7 separate regions of the Homo sapiens genome follow, and all the other regions are linked to region 2. The links are contacts of gene promoters, found by promoter capture Hi-C in blood cells and fetal thymus (Javierre and others, 2016). All regions are on one chromosome and are shown on one strand. Each heading gives the region's core, a stretch centred on a gene start or on the middle of the fragment in contact. The rest is flanking DNA. Distances are from core to core; before and after follow the strand shown.

Region 1 (2,953 bases), core at 426-2,925, 3.8 Mb after region 2:
GTAACCGTGCTATAGCTAACATGGACTATATAAATGTTTATAAAATGGAAGAAGTATTTCTTACTCTTCTTCCTACTTTGTTTGTTCATCTTTGCCTGCTACCAAATCCAAATGAGTAGGGGGGATTTTTTTCCCCTCTTTGCAGATTTCCTTGAAATTACCCCAAACCAAGCATCTCACCTCAAACCCCTGTAATATCTTCGTCCTTTCTGTGTTAACCGAACTCTACCTTCTCATTAAGTTATTAATATCTCCATCTCACTTACATTACAAATTCCTTCAAGTTTGGGATTTTTTTTCCTCATCATTGTTAAATGTTAACAAAGATGTTAACAAAACGTTAACAAAATGTGTTAAAGCACGTTTTTGTTCCTTGTTCAGTGCTTTACACATTTATTATTCAACACATGTATTAAACTAAGATATTTACAGAAAGAATTTCTAACAATTTTGAACAATATCTGGCTTTATGTTGCTGTTTTATATATCTAATATTGGGACTTTTTCCTGTTAAGTAAAGAACAAAAACCAAGTTCATAATGTCAAGATAGTTCAAAGATGGTAACATTGGTAAATATAATAGGAAGTTTTAAAAAAAACTTTAATAGAATTTTCATTGTGTTTTCTCGTAGTGTCTATGTTTTACTACTGTAATAGGCTTTCTCTGATACTCTTTTTCTTTTTACTCTGTAAGCAAGTAAATCTTGCTTAGCATTTACTTTTGATGCTGTTCACTTGACATTGGTCTGAGAGGTTTCTAGTCCAAGAGACAGAAGCATTTATGCTGAAAAATAGATAATTATACTTTTGTTAGTAGCAAGTACATAAGTAACAAACATGACAAAGCCCTGGAGAGGGATAATACTTACCCCTATGTAAACCTACCCATCAGCAGGAGTGGTACGCAGCAGTTCCTTTTCAGTTCCTTAAGAGCTCTTCAGTGGAATGCTAATTAGGGATTCAGTACCATAAAGCTTGGAAAGATCTATTAACTAGAGAGAAGAAAATGTTGAAACAATGAATCCCTTTTAAGATAGTTACCATTAAATGATTTAGAGAGTTTCTGCAAGTAGGTGAGAGTAACAGTATTTTTCCAGCTGCTTAATTTTTCTTTTCCCCCCTGAGATGGAATTTTGCTGTTGTTGCCCAGGCTGGAGGGCAATGGCGTGATCTCGGTTCACTGCAACCTCCGCCTCCCCGGGTTCAAGCAATTCTCCAGCCTCAGCCTCCTGAGTAGCTGGGATTACAGGCACCTGCCACCATGCCCAGCTAATTTTTGTATTTTTAGGTAGAGACGGGGTTTCACCATGTTGGCCAGGCTGGTCTTGAATTCCTCACCTCAGGTGATCCACCTGCCTCGGGCTCCCAAAGTGCTGGGATTATAGGCATGAGCCACTGCGCCTGGCCCAGCTGCTTGAATTTTATGGGGAAACCCAGGAGACTAAAATCACCTCAATTGTCTTTGTGGGCAGGGGAGTACGGGGAAGGTGTACTTTACCATAGTTCTAGAAAAATCAAGAGGAATTGCTGAAGTTTCTTTCAGAGCCAATGAAGACCTACCAAGCATTCTAAAGGGCGATTCTTTGCGAAGACAAAATTCAAGATAAGAATTATACTTAAATAAAGATTAGAAATACCTGTACATTGTGGTCCAGGAGACTGGAAGACTGTAAATTCCAACATTTAGAATGTCATTGATCTCTTGATCTTCAATGTTCAGGGACAGTAAGAGTTGATAATTCTTTTTTCTTTTTCTTTTCTTTTTTTTTTTTTTGCAACAGTGTCTTGCTTTGTTGTCCAGGATGGGAGTGCAGTGGCAGGATCATGGCTCACTGCAGCCTTCAACTCCCAGGCTCAGGCAATCCTCCCACCTCAGACTCCCAAGTAGCTGAGACTAACTACAGGTGCACACCACTATGCCTAGTTAATTTTTAAATTTTTGGTAAAGACGGAGGTCCACCTATGTTGCCTAGTACTGGTCTCAAACTCCTGGGCTCAAGCCATCCACCCACCTCAGCTTTCCAAAGTGCTGGGATTACGGGCATGAGCCACTTCGCCCAGCTGAAGTCATAAATCTTTGTTGTACTTATTTAAACTGATGTGACAGAAGAGGCCTGAACTGTTCACTTCAGTGTAATGAATAATACTTCAGTGTAATGAATAATACTTCTTTGCTTAACCTACCTTGGATAAGTGAAGTACTAAAACAAAACCAAAGTGAAGCATTAATGAATTACATCTGCAAAGGAAGTATTAATTAATTACACCTTCAAAGGAAGAGTACTCTAAATCCAAGGTAGTGTTAACATTTTTCATTATTAGTCCAGACTATCCTGTCTACTTGTGACTAAAATCATATTTGCTCAATAAGCTTCCAGGCCTACCCACTAGACTTTGAAGGGGAGTGGGCAGTACTGTACTTACATCTGCCTCTGCCCTACCCTTAATTCTGACATCGGAAAGGACATCACAAGTAGCTCCCTGAAATCACTGTAGACAGGGTGAAAAGGAAATTCACCAGGAGGTTATTCCAAAGACACTTTAGTTTTCAGCATGTCAATAGATTGTTGAAGGGAAATGGTGCCAACAGACCCTGCTAGCAAAAAGAAATATAAAATGTGTTCTATTTTAAGAAAAAAATCAGACTCATAAAAGACAAGTCATCATACATTCTACATAGTTGTAATGGGACATACTTAGACCAAAAAAATTATTCGACATTTCTCTGAAATTCAAATTAAATTGGGCATCTAATGTTTTTATTTGCTAAACCTGTCAACTCTATCTATATTCATTCTAAGAAAGGACTATATTTTCCTTACCACAAAGAAGCATAAAATACATTGTTCCTGGTGTTAATAGAAATGGTTATGTCAAATGCTTTCTACCAATCCAAATTTATTCTATATTTATAATAGGGCAGCAACAATCCATGATAGAATTATGTTGCTAT
Region 2 (3,125 bases), core at 516-3,015:
TGTTGGTGCTTCCTGGGAATCCGCTGTTCAAATCGTCATACCGTGGTGGAGCCTTTTTAAAATAAATTTTATATATATATGTGTGTGTGTGCATATATATATGTGTATATATATACGTATATATGTGTGTGTATATATATACGTACATATGTGTATATATGTATAAATATGTGTATATGTGTGTATACGTATATGTGTGTATATATATATTTAGTTTGAAGGCTTATTTAAAATGAAAATAAATTATGAAACTTTTCTGCTCTCAAAGATCTGTTTGGAAGAGTAAGTGTATTCAGTACTTTGTATGCCTTAATGTGTTTTCTATCTTAAACTAGTCTTCACAAGCTTTTACCACTCCAACTGAGATGTATACGTTAAGTTAGACTAATGTTTCAAAAACGGATACTTAAAAGCAACGTACCATAAAAATCTTCAGAAATTGTTACAAAGAAGAGTGAAAGAAAACAAGGTGTTTTACCATATGCATTTTTAAATTTAGCGTAGTGGATACTTTGTTTTAAAAATACATAATTTGTAGAATTACTGCCCAGTTTGTGTTTGAAACATAAATCCTGGGGTGGACGGCATTAAATTGAAAAAAAACGTGGGCATACAGTATATTTTAATTTTTCATACTGAATCGTACATTTGCACTGTGCCTTATTTCTACCGTGTTCTTCCTACTGTTGGACATATAAAAAGATTTTCCTTGGAACTGTGACTTGATTAGATGCTGCAGTATGCTGGATCCGGGTCGGTGGACCGCAGAGCGCTCGAGATGCGGAGAAGCAAAGCTGGCCGCTAGTGGGCGCTGTGGCTCCGTGGAAGTCACGGACGAGCGTCAGCACCGGCGCTCGACCGGGAAAGTAGCGAGGAGTTCCTGCCAGCTCTGCTCTGGGGTCTTGCAGACGCCGAGTGAGAAGCACATGCCTTGACTTTTCCATCTCACACCCTCTAAATCTCTGGTCACTTTGGGAAGCGCGCGTGTCTCCTAGAGGCTAGTGAGACGGTCCCCGCGTCGTGCCTGTGCCGGCGACACGCGGGGAAAGCTCCAGGGGCGCCACCTTCCCGGGGGGCCAGGAGGGAAGGGAGACGCCCGCAGAGAAGGCGGGAGGCGACGATGCTCAGGCCCTGATTAGAGCTGCAAATTCCGGCGCCGCGTCGCAGGAATCGTCTTGCAATTCCCGGCCCCACTGACTGAAACTGAGCCGTAGGCGATTGGTACCAAAATCAAGTGAGAAGCCCTCGCCGAGAGGCGTCGGGAGAAGCGCGCAGAAGCCGGGAGCTCTAAGGGTGCGCGCGGAGTGCAAGTCTTGCACGCGGGGCAGCGCCGCATCTGCGGAGAAGGGACGCCGAGCGGAGCCTGCTGCCTTCCGCACTGCTCGAGGGAAAGCCGCGCCCTCTGATTCCGCCGAGGGGGAAGGCGCCCCCGGGCGCGGAGACAGGTGGCCCGCTACTCGGCCGTCGCTGTTTCCACGTCTGCACCGCGCCCAGAAGGCCTCTCGCCGCCCCGGGGGCGCCCTGTGCACGCGCTGAGCGCTTCTCCTGCCCGGCTTCTGCTCCGCTCCCGCCGCCCGCGGGAGCCAGGGGCGGGGCTCACCTGTCAGCCCGAGCCCCGCCTCGCGGCACCCAATGTCGGGAGGGGATGGCGGACGGACGGACCGGCCGTCCAACCAGCGCGCGGCCGCGGAGCCGCGGGCCAATGGGCTTCGCGCGGCGGGGCGGGGCCCCGCGTTTATAGCGCTCTGACAGCGCGGCGGCCGCGCTGACTCTCCTCGGCGGGGACCGCGGCGCCGGCCGGAGCGAGGAGCTGCGCACGCAGCGGGTCCCGGCGCCCTCCCCGCACACAAAGGCCCGCGCGCGTCCGGAGCCCGCGGCGGGGACCGAGCTCCCTCTTTCCTGCCCTGGGGGCCGGGAGCCGCGCGGACTGAGAAGGCTCCTGCGCGCCCGGAGGCGCCCTACTCCGCTCCGTGCTCCGGGACATGGAACCGCGCCGACGCGGCGCCCGCGCGCTCGGGCCGCTGCCCGCTGCACTGGATCTATAGTCACAGGCGGCCCCGCTCGGGGCGCAGCGCCCGCCGCCCGCGCCGGTCGTCTCCGCTCCGGGTCTTTGTGTCCCAGCCCGCACCCGCCCCGCGCCCACCCGCCAGCCGCGGCCGGCCCGGCACCCTGGAGCCGCACGGGAGTCGGCCGTCCGAGCTGCGTCCGGCGCGGCGCCCCGGAACCCCGAGTCCGCCGCGCCGCCGCGCCCCGCGCGTGCGCTCCCGCCCCGCGCCCTGAGGGCCCCGGAGAGCGAGCGCACCTGGCCCGGCGACCGCTGGAGCTGCGCAGCGCGCCTCGGAGCTGCCTGCGGGCGCACGCCGTCTTCCCCGCCAGTCTGCCCCGGAGGATTGGGGGTCCCAGCCTGCGTCCCGTCAGTCCCTTCTTGGCCCGGAGTGCGCGGAGCTGGGAGTGGCTTCGCCATGGCTGTGAGAAGGGACTCCGTGTGGAAGTACTGCTGGGGTGTTTTGATGGTTTTATGCAGAACTGCGATTTCCAAATCGATAGTTTTAGAGCCTATCTATTGGAATTCCTCGAACTCCAAGTAAGTGGCGTCCGCGATCCCCCTATGTCCCCGCCCCGGGGTCCGCCGCGCCGTCCGGGCGGGAGGAGGGGTCAGTCCGCGGGGCCTCGGAGCCTGTTTCTGGAACCTCGGTTCCCCGTCCCCCACCCCCAACCCCCGCCCCATTTCACTAGGTGGAGACTCCTCGCTCGGCTTTCCAACCCGAGCCCCGCTGGAACGGACGGTCTCTCCGCCTTTCCTCCCCCGAACGCTCCCAGGCGCTAAAAGCTACTATCGGCTCGGGTGTCAAGTCCGGGAAGGTGTCCGATGGCGATACCTGACCCTCTCCTGTTTTCGAGGACGAAGGACATGGCCACAATCTAGGCTGGCCGGCACGCGGGGACTGGTGGGCTCTGGAGAGAGGCGGAGATGCTGCATTCGCGGGGAGCGCGGGCGGCGTGGTCCGGGGCCCGCGGGCGGGCGACCGGGGTGGCAGGACGCTGGCAGCGAAGCGCGTTCTGGAGAGGGGAGCCTGGAGTCGCTACGCTGCCCGCAGAGCCCTGGAGCCGGGGCGCCTTGGCAC
Region 3 (3,172 bases), core at 615-3,114, 3.7 Mb after region 2:
TATCTGGAGAACTACAAGGTTATTTTTTATACCACAAGATCTGCTCCTATTTAATGTAGGCTTACTAAAATCTTCTACTGTCTTTATACAGTCCTGTATATAGCAGTTTCATATATAATGCCAGCTGTTCAGTAGCAAGCATAGTCAATCATTCCCATCGTAATCACTGTAACCCTGGTAACCACTGTTCCTTCTCTCATGGATACTAGACATCTTTTTCCATGCCGAGTCCTGATGGAAACTAGCACTGAAAGACCGGCCCAGACGCCCATGCTGCTTCTTGGAAATATTGTCTTCACTCTCAGATTTGGCAATTCCCTGGGCATGTGTTGGAGGTTGTGATTCTTGTCTAATGGTTCCAAATGGAAAGTTCCAAAGGCCAAATCTTTGCCAGTTAAGTCTCTGGAATGCTATGATGCAATGCAAATTTCCCCCAACCTGAGAAGAAAAAAATGTTGGCTGAAGAAAATAAAGGGAAATTAATTGTACTAATTTGTAGGTCCCTATGAACTCCCTTCTTTCTTTTTTTACTTCACCGGCCTCAGAATGGTACTTTCCTTCCAGGCATCATCAGAGCACCTCATCCTGCACCTTTTCTAACAGCTGCCTTTACAAAATATAACAATGCCCACCGGAGCCAAAACACCTTCCTCCCCATGCCTCTCTACTACTCACTCCCAACACATACTAGAGAACTTCCCCATCTGCCTAATTCAAACACCAAGATCATTCCTTTTCCTCTCTCTCCTATTCTTCATATAGTTATATGAGTAAGATTGCATCAATAAGATATCATTTCCTGAGAGCCTCTCCCAAAGCCTTGTTTGTACACATGACTCTGCCACAAGGCCACAGTTAATCTGGCCCAAGCTGGGCTAAGACTACGGAACTGAACCCAAGACAGGTCAGTCTCAGTCTAGACTGTTCATCTAAAAACGACACATAAATGGAAAGATGATGATCTTACGAAGAAAGTAATCAGACAAAAGGAAAGCTAAGAACAATATATAGCCCCCAAAAGAGTGAAGCAGACTACCAGCTACTTGGCCCTTGCTGTCATTCCAATACCTGCTACCATCTACCATTCCTTTATGACTCCAGGTTATACCCCTTGCCCTTGGGTTTTAAAGACAGCCGTGTGTCCTTAAAATAATTTTCACTCCTCTATCAAATATAGGTTTCTGTTACTTGCAACCTAAAGAGTGCTAAGTAAAACACCACATTTTGGTCAGCTGGGAAATGCCTTCAAACACAATGGTGTTCTTCTTACCTTCTTTGTTTTTCTATACTGCAGTCCCCTCTCTAAGTGCCGGATATCCAGGTATTCTGGATTTTGAGTGTTTAGATCAGTAACAATATCTGCCCATCTATAGTTAAGAAGAAAGGATAAAGCACAATTTTCTTTAGGTCTAAAGTATCATTGCAATGGAATTTTTCATGAGCAAGTTGCTGCAATATTATCACAGCAATAATTGGCAGTAATTCTCTTATCTCAACATTGTTTCATCTACTAAACTGTAATAACTTCTAGTTTTATGACAATTCTGTTTATCCAACCGTTGCCAAGGTTTTCAGTGTACAATTGGTTACTCTTCCTACAGAATAAATAAATACCAACATGTTAGATGACATCCTGCATGCTAAAGCAGCAATATGCTATATTTCCTTTTCAATTACAGTCAAGTCCACTTTTAAAAGAATGTAAAGTTAATATGTCTCTATTAGGAGACAACACAATTGTGCAGAAAATCCAAGGGAATTACAAAACAACTACTAGAACTAAAAGGATTTGGTAAAGATGGAAGATTCAAGGTCTACATAGGAAAATCAATTGTATTTTTGTATTCAACCAGCAAATAATGAAGAAATGAAATTTTAAAAAAATCAATTTACAATAGCATCAAAAAGTATAACACACTGAGGAAAACCTTTTTATTGCAATATCTTTTTTAAGTTTTACTTCAATTGTTTTTGGGGTACAGCTGGGTTTTGGTTATACCAATAAGTTCTTCGGTGGTGATTTCTGAGATTTTAGTGCACCCATCATCCAAGCAGTGTACACTGAATCCAATATGTAGTCTTTTATCTCTCACCCGCCTCCCAGACTGCCCTCAGGAGTCCCCAAAGTCCATTATATCATTCTTATGCCTTTGCATCCGCATAGCTTAGCTCCCACTTAAAGTGAAAACATATGATATTTGGCTTTCCATTCCTGAGTTACTTCACTTAGAATAACGGCCTCCGGCTCCACCCAAGTTGTTGCAAAAGACATCATTTCATTCCTTTTTATGGCTGAGTAGTATTCCGTGGTAATATACATACCACATTTTCTTTATCCACTCATTGGTTGATGGGCACTTAGGTTGATTCTCCATCTTTGCAACTGCGAATTGTACCACTATAAACGTGTGTGCCTGTGTGTTTTTCATATGACTTATTTTCCTTTGGGCAGATACTCAGTAGTGGGATTGCTGGATCAAATGGTAGATCTACTTTTAGTTCTTTAAGGAATCTCCATACTGTTTGTCATAGTGATTGTACTAATTTACATTCCCACCAGCAGTGTAATAGAACACATAGAGAAAAAATGTTTAATAAAAGACATAAAACTCCATACTGAAAAAATTTTTTTAAAAAGTTGAAATTAAAGCTCTAATTAAGTAAAGATATAGTCCATGTTGTTATGATGTCAATTCTTCCAAAACTAAACTATGAATTCTTTCTTTCTTTATGAGACAGGGTCTCACCTTATCACTTAGGGAGGAGTGCAGTGGTGCAATCTCAGCTCACTGCAGCCTCGACCTCCCAGGCTCAGTTGATCCTCCCCCCTCAGCCTCCCGAGTAGCTGAAACTACACGCACATGCCACCATGCCTGGCTAATTTTTGTCGTTTTAGTAGAGATGGGGTTTCGCCATAGTGCCAAGGCTGGTCTCGAACTCCTGAGCTGAAGTGATCCTCCCACCTAAGCGCTGGGATTACAAGCATGAGCCACCGCGCCCAGCCAAAATTATGAATTCTATAGATTCTATCCTCATCAAAATCTTTACAAACTCTAATTAAAAGGACAAATTCTAAAATTTTTATGGAAAAGCCAAGGTCCTAGAAGAGCCAAAACAATCTTTAAGAAAAAGAAAAATTCAGAGAATTCGTGCTATCTAATTTCAGGATTTA
Region 4 (3,019 bases), core at 110-2,609, 3.6 Mb after region 2:
TGATTTTTGTGTGATTTCTAATATTATCTCCCTATTCTGATACGTGCTTTTTCATAAAAGCATAGCACTTCAAAACTCAAAAGGAATCTACAGCTACATGGGAACACTGAAATGGCGCTAAAATCTAAAGTGCATCTGAATCAGCAGCAATAGAATCTGCCTCTGCCTGGTATTTCACATTTCTTCTCTTGCAACCAGAATGCTTCCATGCAACTCTTATTTAGAACATTTCATCTGAGGCTTGTGACAGTATTCCACAAGAAGAATTAACACAACTTAATGCAGAAAACTATGAAAGAGACCGGAATTAACACAACTTAATGCAGAAAACTATAAAAGAGACTGGTAAGGAGACTTTAAAATCTGTAGTTTCTAGATGAAGCCCATTCAAACAGTTAAGGAGTCACAGATAGGCACAGGTCATAGTACACTGGATAGTAAAACAACTAATGATATTTGATCATTAAATTCTCTGACACTCCCTCTATTCAATCAAAAATATCTGCTTACCAAGTAAACTTGCCACAATGGAGACTAGCCCTGTTCCAGCTCCAATTTCAATCACGTTTTTGTCAACCATATTATACTGCTTTGCATTTGTTTCCAGGAAATAGCATAGAACAAGGGCCTATGAAAGTTAGAAAAAAAAAAAAAAGGGACGCTTGGCAAGTAATAACAGAAAGTAAAATTAAACTTTATTGGACAAATATGCTGCTAATGTTATGCTATGTATGCGTGCTCATATGAGTACATGAGAGTACTCATGTGTGTACTTGTACATCACTCCAAAAAATATGAACAAAAGTGCATCCTCTGAGAGGTTCAACATTTCTGCTAGAAAAATTCCTTGGGGATTATTGAGAGGAAAAGAGAAATAACTAAAAATGTGGAGTTCAATTGCTTAGGTTTGATCATTTTTAAAGGAAGCAACTTCTGATAATACTAGTCATTTCCAAGTGGTGTGTGGGATTGGGGCAGGTGGGGTGGTGGGTCCATTACTCTTCATGGGACAGTTGGTAAAGGATTGAGGGTCTTTGAGGACATTCTACATGTGAGACTCATATAGATTTCAATGTAATTGTTTAACTCAAATGGAGCTGATAAAAGGGGAAATAAAAATGTTTACTGCTCTAAACTCTTATTTTAAAAACTGAAGAAGTAAACAACACCCTGTATTAATCCTACAAATTTCAATAAAGTCAGAAATAGAATTAATTGAGGCCCAGCGTGGTAGCTTATGCCTGTAATCCCAGCACCTTGGGAGGTGGAGGTGGATGGATTACTTGAGGCAAGGAGTTCAAAACCAGCCTGGCCAACGTGGTTGAAACCCCATTCCCACCAAAATTACAAAAATTAGCTTGGTGTGGTGTTGCATGCCTGTAGTCCCAGCTACTCAGGAGGCTGCAGCAGGGGAATCATTTAAACCCAGGAGGCAGAGGTTGCAGTGAGCTGAGATCAAGCCACAGCACTCCAGCCCGGGTGACAGAGCAAGACTCTGTCTCAAAAAAAAAGAAAAGAAAAGAAATAGAATTACAGAATTAATTGGGAGAAATAATTTCCTAGTCACATGATTTCTAAAACATAGTACTATTTGAGGTCACAAAGAAGGAATATGGAACCTGTTTTCTTCTTCCAAATAGAACATAATAATGAATAAAACCGGCTGGAAAAATAATTGGAATGTAACAAATTCTGTATGAAATTATACCGATGGCCAAACAACAGCACCATAACAATCCATGGCCTCAGTAATTCGAATCTCATGACCAATAAAATGAAAACTTTCCCAGGAAGTAGTTGTTATCAGAGTTGGAATAAAACATCTTGCCATGATCTCTGTGACCACCTGCTTGTCATCATAGGCTTCTCTGGTGTCTGAAAGGAAAAGAAAAAGGTAATGGTTGTATAAGTAAATCCATGAAAAGAGAAAAGAACTTGATGGAAATACAGCATTTCTGCTTAGTCTAAGGAGCTTTTGAATATTCAGTGACTTTAGGTGAGAAATAATAAGGTAAACTATTTGAAAATGACTCTCAATGTAAGCTAATATTTCCATTCATCAGGGTGGCAACATCTTTCTTATTTTCATGGGAGTTCAAATCACCATTATCCCCTTCTGCAATGCTACACACAACAAATAATAATTGATGTACTTTTTTAAAGCAATATATTTTAAGAGCCACCAATCAGTTCATATAGAATAAGAGAGAGATTGGTGATGGAATATAAGAACCCACCTCTTCATATTGGTGTCCTAGCGCAATTCTAGCTGTTCTGTGTCCCAGGCACAGTGCTGGGTGATGGAGTATAGTAGCTAGCCAAATAGACATGGTCCCTGCCCTTGGAAAAATTGGAAATCCATAGACACAAACATGTGGTATCTCAGGGCATACCTATAAAGAATTGTTGGATTGGAAGAAAGTGCTTTTCCACAGTACTCCCAAGGCTCTTGGCTTTGGTGCCCACCTGGATAGACATTTCTAATAAATGGTGTGTTCTCAGCTTTGCCTTGATGAACAGTTTTGTCAATGGTTCGACTAACTGATGACATTACAAGTATTATAAAATTTTCAGAATATATAAATGGGATGGGGACAACAAGTATAACAGAAAACTAAATGTGAAGGAAAATGTCTTCAGTTGTAAAAATGGATTGGTCTTAACAATGTGAAATTTAATAAAGATAAGTCTAAAGTCTGTATTCAGCCTGAGTTTAGCAGCACTGTGTAGGGGATGGGGACAGACAGATACATTTACTTGGCCACAAGCTCAATATGAGTCAAAAGTTTAATATGATCATCAAAAAATCGGTGCACCTAGCCCACATTAAAAATATAATTTCCAAAATCATGGAGGTAGAGGCTTTCTTTTACACCAGTCAGATTATACTTGTACATCCAGTTAGGGAAGGCCCACTTTAGAGGGACACTGAGAAACTGTAGCAACTGGGAGGTGAGAAATCTTGAAACTCGGCCTTATAAGGACAGTTTTGGGGAGTTCAACATGTTCAACAAAAAGA
Region 5 (2,803 bases), core at 42-2,541, 3.7 Mb after region 2:
TGACCATATAGAAACAAGGAAAAGAAAGCCTGCCTGTGGATGATGTGAAGAAAGGCAGGGATAAGACTGGAAAGTGTAATTAAGGAGTTAAAGTTTTATCCTAAAGAAATGAGAAGCTAAGCTGCGTGTGGTGGCTCACGCCTGCAATCCCAGCACTTTGGGAGGCCGAGGCAGGTGGATCACTTGAGGTCAGGAGTTCGAGACCAGCCTGGACAACATGGTGAAACCTCGTCTCTACTAAAAATACAAAAAATTAGCCAGGTGTGGTGGCACGTGCCTGTAATCCCAGCTACTCCGGAGGCTGAGGCAGGAGAATCGCTTAAACCCAGGAGGCAGGGGTTGCAGTGAGCTGAGATTGTGCCACTGCACTCCAGTCTGGGCAACAGAGACTCCATCTCAAAAAAAAAAGAAAGAAAAAAATGAGAAGGAGAAGCTAGAAAGTGTTTTAAGTAAGGAAATGACAATATCAGATTTGGATTTTAAACAGACTATAACACAAAACAGAGATTGGGCTTGGTGGGAGGAACTATTACAAAAAGGGTATGATCAAAGACAAAGACAGAAAGAAGTTTAAAAGCTAATAATGTAACCTGGAGAAAAAATGACAGTGGTAGCAATGGAGACAAATAGAACTGAGCTGATACAAAAGCTAAGTTGTCTCTTGGGAACTCCTGGGAAAGGAAGAGGTGGAGGGAAGGACAGGGGACAAAGGCAAACTGCCAAGCTTCCGGTTCTCCACCTTCACTTCAAACACAGAAACCACCAACCATTAAGAGAGAGACAGAGGAAGAGGAGTCCACAGAGAGGCTGAGCAGAAAGCGCCAGAGAGATGCCGGGGGAGCGGGGCAGTGTGGCATGGTGTTTAGTGCAGAGAAGTCGAGCACACTAAGACGTGCAAAGCGTCTGCTAGATTTAGCAACAAGAATGTCATGGGTTGTGGTATTTTAGCATCATGGTGAGAGAGACCATACTGGATTGAAAAGCAGCTAGAGACAGCATGTGTAAGCAAAGTGTAAGCAAAACTAAAATTCATGCCTTGGAGAATTTAGAATCCACAGCCCTGGCAGAAGTTCTTTAGAATGAAGAGGAATAAGAATCATGAATCACCAAAACACAAAGAATAGTAAATAAAAAATTTAGTCTTTGAAAAATATTCTGAAAGGTATAGAGCATGCCTATTTCAGATGCATTAAGAAATGTTCACATGCCTTATCATGTAGATAACACATCAAGGTTTAAATGTGTCTGAATGTAGCAATGACTAAAATAATATTCTTAAATAGTTAAACATTTACCTGTGTTTTTCTTCCTCTTGTAAAGGAGGCAAAACATAGAGGTCGTTTTCTCTTCGAACTTGGGTAAGACTGGGTAGTGCTTCATCTCTGGAAAGTACACAAATCTTTAAACAGATTATGCAGACCCTGCTCAGGATGGTGAACAGGGACCTGACCTGGCTGCTCTCAGGCCACTGCTGTGGAAAATAAATGCAGCCGAGAGAAAGGAAGGAACCTTGGCGGGGCTGCTCACCTAGAGTCAAGAAGACCATAATCAAAGTAAAAAGTGTACATGACGCAACACGACAGCTTTTTTTTCTCATTAGCAAAGTTGATTCTCACAGAACGGAGAATTGCCACAACTCCAAATTACCAGGTCAAAATGGCAGCCTACTTGTCTCATTTCACTCTCTATTTTCTGTTGAGAGTCAAAATTAGATAGGGAAAGAGAATCGCAGGAAATCAAGACAAAAATCACTTTTTTAAAACTTCATCTCTAACACGACTATAATTTTCCTCTTGCCTTTTGCTTCTGAAGGCAGTTTTGATGGCTTGTCTTTTCAAAAATGTTTTCAGAAGCTTCTCTGTCGTTTTCCTGGAGTCACTGGACGCTAAGTCCTTTCTCTGCCTTCTCTTCACCTATGAGAAGAAAGGATGTAAGATCTCACTTCAGGATATTAGACCACTAGAAACATTGCTGTGATTTATTTTCCAGAGAATTTGGTTTGTCTGAGTTTTCAGACTATGGCTGCTTTAGCATTTCCTCCTAATTGCCATATCAGTGTATATCTTCAGGTTGCTGCTACGTAAAGGACACCCAGAGTTTCCATCTATTACTTAATGGGCTACTACACAATATATTTGGGAAACTTAATTTACTTTCAGTTTCTTTTAAATGTCTTTTAATATGCCCAAGAAGTGGAAAGCTTAAATGCTTCCCAAAAGAAATTATTTATTTATTCTATAAAATGTCACAGTGACACCAAAAACAATTTCTAATATTGCTTTTTATAAACATGCATTACTTACATGTAATTCTGCCCTTCAATATTCAAGATTATATATCATGAGAAATTCTAAAATGTATAGAAATATCTTGTAAGAAATGTTCAAGTAGTGACAAATGGATAGTCCCTGTGCTTATGGCTGAATATCGGATAAAAATAACCAAGATATTCTCTTTTCCTTTCTAATCCTTCCACAAAGTACCTGATTTACAGTATGCCTTGGGTAACTGAAAACTGCAACATTCAAGACTAGACACTCTTACTGAGGCAACAAAGGTCCCCCAGCATTTATAAATGCTTTTTATTTTTATCCTATATCCTTACTTTTATCCTATATCCTCATTTAGAGAGTATCTGGTATGATTACAAAGTCATCATTTCATTACTTTGGTATTTTCAACAAATAAAAGTCATATATCCAAATGGGTGCTGTCATTTGGACTGTTTAAACATTATTTTATGTCATTTTTTTAGAGATGGGGTCTCCCTGTGTTGCCCAGGCTGGACTTGGGCTCAAGCAAT
Region 6 (2,849 bases), core at 107-2,606, 3.8 Mb after region 2:
AGAGTTTTTATTTCTGTAACCAGCTACAGGGAGAAGGCCTGGAAATTATCACCAGACCAACTGAAAATTACAAAGTTTTCCAGAGCCTATATACCTTCCAAGCTATATGTCTATATTTAAGTATGCATTCATCTAAACACATAAGTGATTAACTTCTTTTAATCTGTAACTAAGGTCTGAGTCTTGAAGACCTTTCTCTGGAGCCTCAGTAAATGTACTTAATCTAAATGAGTCCAGGTGCTGGGGTGATTACCCTTATCTTGTCTCCTACTAAATCACGAAGGTTTAGGGATTTCCTTCAGACTCCCAATAAATTAGTTTATGGAGGCCTTGGGAGTTTCTTCAGGCCCCCAGTAAAACTTGTTTTATCATGCTTTAAGGTTCAGGAAAGGCCTAGGCAAAACTCTTGTTGGGCTGTTGTTACATTCCAGCCTTTGTATAAGGACGCTGGCTTTTAACATTTAATTTAACCACTCAGTCAGTACTGAAACTGTTGTATGGAGGCCTGCGTTAGTGAGACCTGGCCTGCCACAAGATGAGATTTGGGTAGGGACACAGCCAGACCATATCACCATCCTTTCATCAGCCTCCTGAACCTTGTCGTAGGCCTATCTGTGCACTGCCTTATAAAATTCAATTTTAGCAAGAACCCTGCTAAGTCAGTTTCACAAAAATCCCCCACCCTCCATATGTGACCACACTTTATATCTAATCTGCTTCCTCATCCTCTACCATCCCCCAGGTCATGTCTGATCGTGCTGGCCTGTTTTCAGCTAGAATCCCATTTGGTCTATTTAACCAGAATCTCTGTCACCCTGATGCATTTCCTCTTAGTAATTTTCCATCCACTGACTCCCTACCCTGCTCCTTGGCTATAAATGCCCATTTAACCATGCTGTATTCAGAATTGAGTCCAATCCTATACTGAAGTGTCTTTTCCCCTGTTGCAATAGTCCTGAATAACATCTGTTTTTTTACCACTTTAACTATCGTCCAGCTCTGGTTTTTCTTCGACATTTCCACTCGGGTTCAGAAATAGAACATTGCTTAGAGGTGACCACAGTGCCTCCTCTTATCACATTTCCTCTCTGCTCCCAGGTAACCACAAACATGATGGCTGTGATAATCTTTTTCTTGCTTTTTAGTTTTACCACCTACATACACTTCCCTAAGCAGTAGAGTTTACTCTTGCCTATTTTGAAATTGATATAAATGGAATCATATCAAATTTTTGTTGTTGTTACTTGCCTATTTTTTTTTTAGACAGAGTCACACTCTGTCACTCAGGCTGGAGTGCAATGGCACAATCTTGGCTCACTTCAACCTCCACCTCCCAGGTTCAAGCGATTCTCCTGCCTCAGTTTCCTGAGTAGCTGGGATTATAGGTGCCTGCCTTGCCCGGCTAATGTTTTGTATTTTTAGTAGAGACAGGGTTTCAGCATGTTGCCCAAGGTTGTCTCAAACTCCTGAACTCAAGTGCTATGCCAGCCTCGGCCTCCCAAAGTGCTAGGATTACAGGCATGAGCCACCACACCCAGCCTTATTCATTTTTTATATGTGGACAGTACTTCACCATATAAATATGATCACTTTATTTTACCGTCCATTGCAGATGGACATTTGGATTCCTCTCATTTGGGGGGAATGTCAATCAGTGCTACAGCAAACATTCTTATTCATGTTTCTTGGCCACATTTGATTAGAAGTGGAATTACTGGGTTATAAGGAATGTACACCTGTTATTTCACTCGATAATGTTAAATGATTCCAAATTGGTTGTCCCAGTTTATGCTCTTTCCAGGGCTGTACAGAATTTGCAGTTGTTTTACTTTCTTGCTAACAGTTGATATTATCAGACTTACAAATTTTTTGCCAATCTGATTAGTACACAATGGTAACACATTATGTTTTAATTTTCATTTCTCTGATTATTAATGAGGTTGACCATTTTGTGGTTATGAGCCATTTGTGTTGCCTTTCCTGTAAAATTTTTAATCTTTTTAAATTTTTACTTATTTTCCTACTAAGTTGTTCAACTTCCTGCTGGATTCATAGACATATATTTTGGAGTTAGTACTTTGTGGTATATGCTGCATACATCCTACTTTATGGTATATCTTAGACTCTCATTTCATTGTCTTTTAATGCTCAAAAGATTATGTTTTTTGTTTTTTGGGTGTTTTTTTTTGTAGAGACAGGGTCTCACTAGCTGGTTATTTAATGTAGCTAAGAAAACTATAGATTTTTATATATGTTCTGTACCCAACCCCTTAACGAACGATTTTATTAGCTCTAATACATTTCACTTGTTTTTTCTCAAACACAGTCATATTTGAAACTGACAGTGTATCTTCTTTACCATATTTATAATCTTATTTATTTTCTGTCCTTATTGCATTGGCTGGAACTTCTAGCATAATGTTGAATGATTGTGGTGACAACAAGCATTCTTATTGTCTTTCAGACTTCAGTGGTATATCATTAGTCAGGATTCTCCAGATAAATATGACCAATAGAAGGGTGTGAGTGTGTGTGTGTGTGTGTGTGTGTGTTCATAAGGATTTATTTTAAGAAATTGGTTCACACAATTATAGAGGCTAGCAAGTCCAAAATCTGCAGTTAAAGTCCAAAGACCATTAGGCTGGAGACCCAGGAGAGATTAGTATTGCAGTTCAAGCCTGAAGGCGGTCTGCTGACAGAATTCCCTCTTGCTCAAGGGAGGCTAGTCTTTTGTTCTACTTACTCCTTCAGTTAACTGGATGAGGCCCCCCCCCTGCCACGTTACAGAGGGCAATCTGCTTTACTCACAGTTCACTGATTTAAATGGTAATCTTATCCCAAAACACCCT
Region 7 (2,966 bases), core at 254-2,753, 3.7 Mb after region 2:
CTCACAGATAAAGCAAGAAGTAGGTACCTAGAGGAACTAAAGGTCATACAAAAGGGCTCCTTCCCACAAAAACCTCTCCTACTGATACACAATAATGACTGAACTTCTACCTTTCAAGATTCGTTTATAGAATTTAAAAATATTAGTACTTATAAAAACTTAAATGATCAGAATTGCTTTGAAGACTTCCTTTCGTTAAAAAATGAAAGTAAATCCCAAGGGGTAATGTATTTAATCAGAAACACCTTAGTGTGAAATCAGTTATTAGACTGGTTTTTTCAAAGAAAAAAATGAATATGAAAGGACTCCAAAGTTCAGCCCTAAGAGTGATCATAGAAAATGAAGCCAAAGTCTAACTTTTCTTTTTCTATTTTCTTCTATTCTCTCATCTAAATTATCCTAATTTCAAAATGTCTGCTCTATGCCCCAAAATAAGAGTTAACTGGTCTTTAACAGCTGTCAACCACAGCCTACCCTTCATCCTGAACTTAGGAGAAGGGTCCACCATGATTACCTGCTGGGCATCGAGTTGCTTTAATACAGGAAACAGAGATTCATCTGTCTTCGTTCTGTTCCAGCCGAAATACCGCTGACAAAATATGCATGCAGTTAAGACTTATAAATATTTTGAAAGATATTTAAACAAGTGACAAATAAAAAGGTCCAAAGAACCCATTCTTGATTCCATTCCCTGTATCTCCTAAGATTTTCCTATTTATAAAGATTAGAGTGCTAAAAGAAAGTACTAACAAAATAAATGACTCCAGCATAATCATCTGGCACTATGTTCTTTTCAATTCTATAAAATAAAACATATTTAGCTCTCACTTTAGGACATCAAAGACTTGTGACTATGAAAAAAGGTTAACTGGAATAAAAACAAGTTTCAGATATCTTGCCTATTTCATTAAGAGAAAAAATCAAACGTAGTTGGATTAATTCTAGTGCAAGTTTTGAAACATCTATCCAAATGATTACTTAAATATACACGGAAAGGACAACCAGTAATAAAAAGGACAAGATTAGTCATCTTTCCTTCTTTCAGAATCAATAATATTTAAGTATGTGGTTATATCTATGAATGCTTATCACTGCTTATTCAAACAAAGACCCTCTTTAAAACTAAGGAGAGGGGCCAGATGCAGTGGCTTGTGCTACTTAGGAGGCTGAGGCAGGAGGATTCCTTGAGCCCAGGAAGTGGTGGCTGCAGTGAGCTATGATTGCACCACTGCACTCCAGGCTGGGTGACAGAGTGATACACTGTTCCTTTAAAACAAACAAACAAACAAAAAACAACAACTGAGGAGAGGGAAGAAAGAGTGAAAAGGAGAGCGGGATATTAAGAAAATGGGATTAACGGGATATAAGAAAAAAATGATCCAAGTTTCTCTTCCATAAGTTTTAAACCAAACACATATTTGACAAGGTGTTTCCTTCTCTTTTAAGAAGCAAAGGATATTCTCTAATTTTGTCGAGATCAGGTTTCCCCCACAGAAAGGATCCCTTCGAGTCATCCACCACGGGTTTGAGGTAGGCCTCGGCAACAGCTGGGTTAGGAAAGCCAGGGGTGAGTTGCAATGTCCGTAATTTTTTTTTCACTTTGGTGTCATGAGGATTAGGTCTTATCTTTGGATTTTTTTGAGCTTCATGCCACCATTCTCTGTAAAATAAAGGAAACAATTACTTACACAGCAATGAGACATTATAGTTCATACACTATGGATGAAGAACTAAACTTAGAACATGTAAACTCAAGTTCTAACTCAAATTGTATGCTATATAGAATATTTTATTAATTTTAGTACTATTAGCCACAATGTATAATGATGGCAAACATTTATGGAAGTCTTCCTCTGTGCTTGGCACTGTGTTAAATATTTCACATGCCCAATCATCACACAAGCCATGCCCTATCGTTACCCTCACCTCACAGAGGAGGGAACTGAACTCAAAAATAAGTAACTGGCTCAAGATTTCACAGCTGGAATTGGTACAGTCTTCCTCTAGAGCCCACACTCATAATTATACCACAGAAGTTACAACTTCTCTGGGTCTCTTTCTCAGCAGTAAAATGGAAGTAATGTATCTGTATTATTTACCTCAAATCAAATACAATAATGGATCGAAGAATATTTAATAAAATGTAAATATGCCAAGAAAATGTTAAATTTGTTTAAAAAATCTGTAAAAACAGATACATGTATCTGTTTTTAAAATTTAACATTTTATATATATATAAATACATATGTATGTAAAACAAATAAATATATACAAAAACAGAGATAATAGAACTCTACTTAAAGTATGATTCCAGTTTTGGAAAAAACACATATATGAGAAAAGTAAACAGATACTTAAAATAAATAACACTAACAACTATTATTTCGCTGTGTGCTAGGCAATATTCTACGTGAGCACACAGCCATTCATTTTCTTCTTTATATTTTATTCATTTTTCAATGTTTTCCATTCTAAGCCTAAATCGGCCGGATAAAGACAGCGACACACTCTTGGACCCTCCTCCCATCACGAAGGGGGTCCCTGTGGCCTCCTCTTGAGCAGGGCGGCCATGGCTGACCAGTGTGACTCAAGCCGTGCCAGGCCTAGGGGAGGCCCTCGCCACTTCCTGTCCCCTGGACCTCCTGCTCTTGGCTCCAACATGCTATGAGGAAGCCAAGCTCACCAAGTGTCCACCCAGGCCCCGAGGCCGAAGCCACCTCATCAGCCCCGCGAGCCATCTTAAGGGGTCCTAGCCCAGCTGAGCTGTCCTAGCCGACATGGAACAGAGACAAGACACCCCCACCAGGCCTGAGCGAGCTTCAGAGGCATGAGCAAAATCAGTGACTACTGCTGTGTGAAGCCACTAAGGCTGAAGGTAGTTTGTAATGCAGTGACGACTGACCAGAAACATTTACACAATTAGGAAAAAATAAATGCCATCAAAGTTACTAACATAATCCTCACCA

What was found. Contacts are between HindIII fragments. The CHiCAGO score rates a contact against its expected background, and 5 or more counts as called.
Region 1: a contact is called between a fragment that was not itself captured here and the fragment with the promoter of EFNB2 in region 2, in 1 of 17 cell types (monocytes). The highest score is 5.2, in monocytes.
Region 3: a contact is called between a fragment that was not itself captured here and the fragment with the promoter of EFNB2 in region 2, in 6 of 17 cell types (monocytes, non-activated CD4 T cells, naive B cells and 3 more). The highest score is 9.7, in monocytes.
Region 4: a fragment that was not itself captured here is called in contact with the fragment with the promoter of EFNB2 in region 2 in 4 of 17 cell types (naive CD8 T cells, M1 macrophages, total CD4 T cells and 1 more); the score reaches 8.5 in naive CD8 T cells.
Region 5: a contact is called between a fragment that was not itself captured here and the fragment with the promoter of EFNB2 in region 2, in 10 of 17 cell types (total B cells, total CD4 T cells, naive CD4 T cells and 7 more). The highest score is 11.4, in total B cells.
Region 6: a fragment that was not itself captured here is called in contact with the fragment with the promoter of EFNB2 in region 2 in 1 of 17 cell types (activated CD4 T cells); the score reaches 5.1 in activated CD4 T cells.
Region 7: a fragment that was not itself captured here is called in contact with the fragment with the promoter of EFNB2 in region 2 in 14 of 17 cell types (total CD4 T cells, total B cells, total CD8 T cells and 11 more); the score reaches 29.6 in total CD4 T cells.

What each region holds. Positions count from the first base shown.
Region 1 is chr13:102,759,240-102,762,192 of GRCh38, reverse strand. LOC105370337 (a long non-coding RNA gene) reads right to left here and starts at 2,539. Exons shown (of 3, transcript XR_931685.4): 1 at 1,638-2,539; 2 at 886-992. The HindIII fragment of the contact is 1,397 bases long and covers 977-2,373 here.
Region 2 is chr13:106,534,302-106,537,426 of GRCh38, reverse strand. EFNB2 (ephrin B2) reads left to right here and starts at 1,765. Exons shown (of 5, transcript NM_004093.4): 1 at 1,765-2,584. The coding sequence starts at 2,463. RefSeq lists an enhancer at 668-737 and a silencer at 1,318-1,977. The HindIII fragment of the contact is 2,990 bases long and covers 348-3,125 here.
Region 3 is chr13:102,836,838-102,840,009 of GRCh38, reverse strand. BIVM (basic, immunoglobulin-like variable motif containing) reads right to left here. Exons shown (of 11, transcript NM_017693.4): 10 at 1,271-1,367; 11 at 1-438. The coding sequence ends at 145. BIVM-ERCC5 (BIVM-ERCC5 readthrough) reads right to left here. Exons shown (of 23, transcript NM_001204425.2): 8 at 1,271-1,367; 9 at 207-438. Among named protein-coding and RNA genes, the nearest start is that of ERCC5, 7.6 kb to the left of the region's middle. The HindIII fragment of the contact is 3,733 bases long and covers 1-3,172 here.
Region 4 is chr13:102,890,192-102,893,210 of GRCh38, reverse strand. It overlaps the pseudogene METTL21EP. Among named protein-coding and RNA genes, the nearest start is that of ERCC5, 46 kb to the right of the region's middle. The HindIII fragment of the contact is 9,059 bases long and covers 1-3,019 here.
Region 5 is chr13:102,852,867-102,855,669 of GRCh38, reverse strand. BIVM-ERCC5 (BIVM-ERCC5 readthrough) reads right to left here. Exons shown (of 23, transcript NM_001204425.2): 11 at 1,798-1,913; 12 at 1,296-1,382. It overlaps ERCC5 (ERCC excision repair 5, endonuclease), which reads right to left. Exons shown (of 15, transcript NM_000123.4): 3 at 1,798-1,913; 4 at 1,296-1,382. Among named protein-coding and RNA genes, the nearest start is that of ERCC5, 8.2 kb to the right of the region's middle. The HindIII fragment of the contact is 1,129 bases long and covers 727-1,855 here.
Region 6 is chr13:102,777,846-102,780,694 of GRCh38, reverse strand. No RefSeq gene overlaps it. Among named protein-coding and RNA genes, the nearest start is that of TEX30, 5.5 kb to the right of the region's middle. The HindIII fragment of the contact is 4,617 bases long and covers 1-2,849 here.
Region 7 is chr13:102,870,892-102,873,857 of GRCh38, reverse strand. BIVM-ERCC5 (BIVM-ERCC5 readthrough) reads right to left here. Exons shown (of 23, transcript NM_001204425.2): 21 at 1,460-1,660; 22 at 515-599. It overlaps ERCC5 (ERCC excision repair 5, endonuclease), which reads right to left. Exons shown (of 15, transcript NM_000123.4): 13 at 1,460-1,660; 14 at 515-599. Among named protein-coding and RNA genes, the nearest start is that of ERCC5, 26 kb to the right of the region's middle. The HindIII fragment of the contact is 3,052 bases long and covers 1-2,966 here.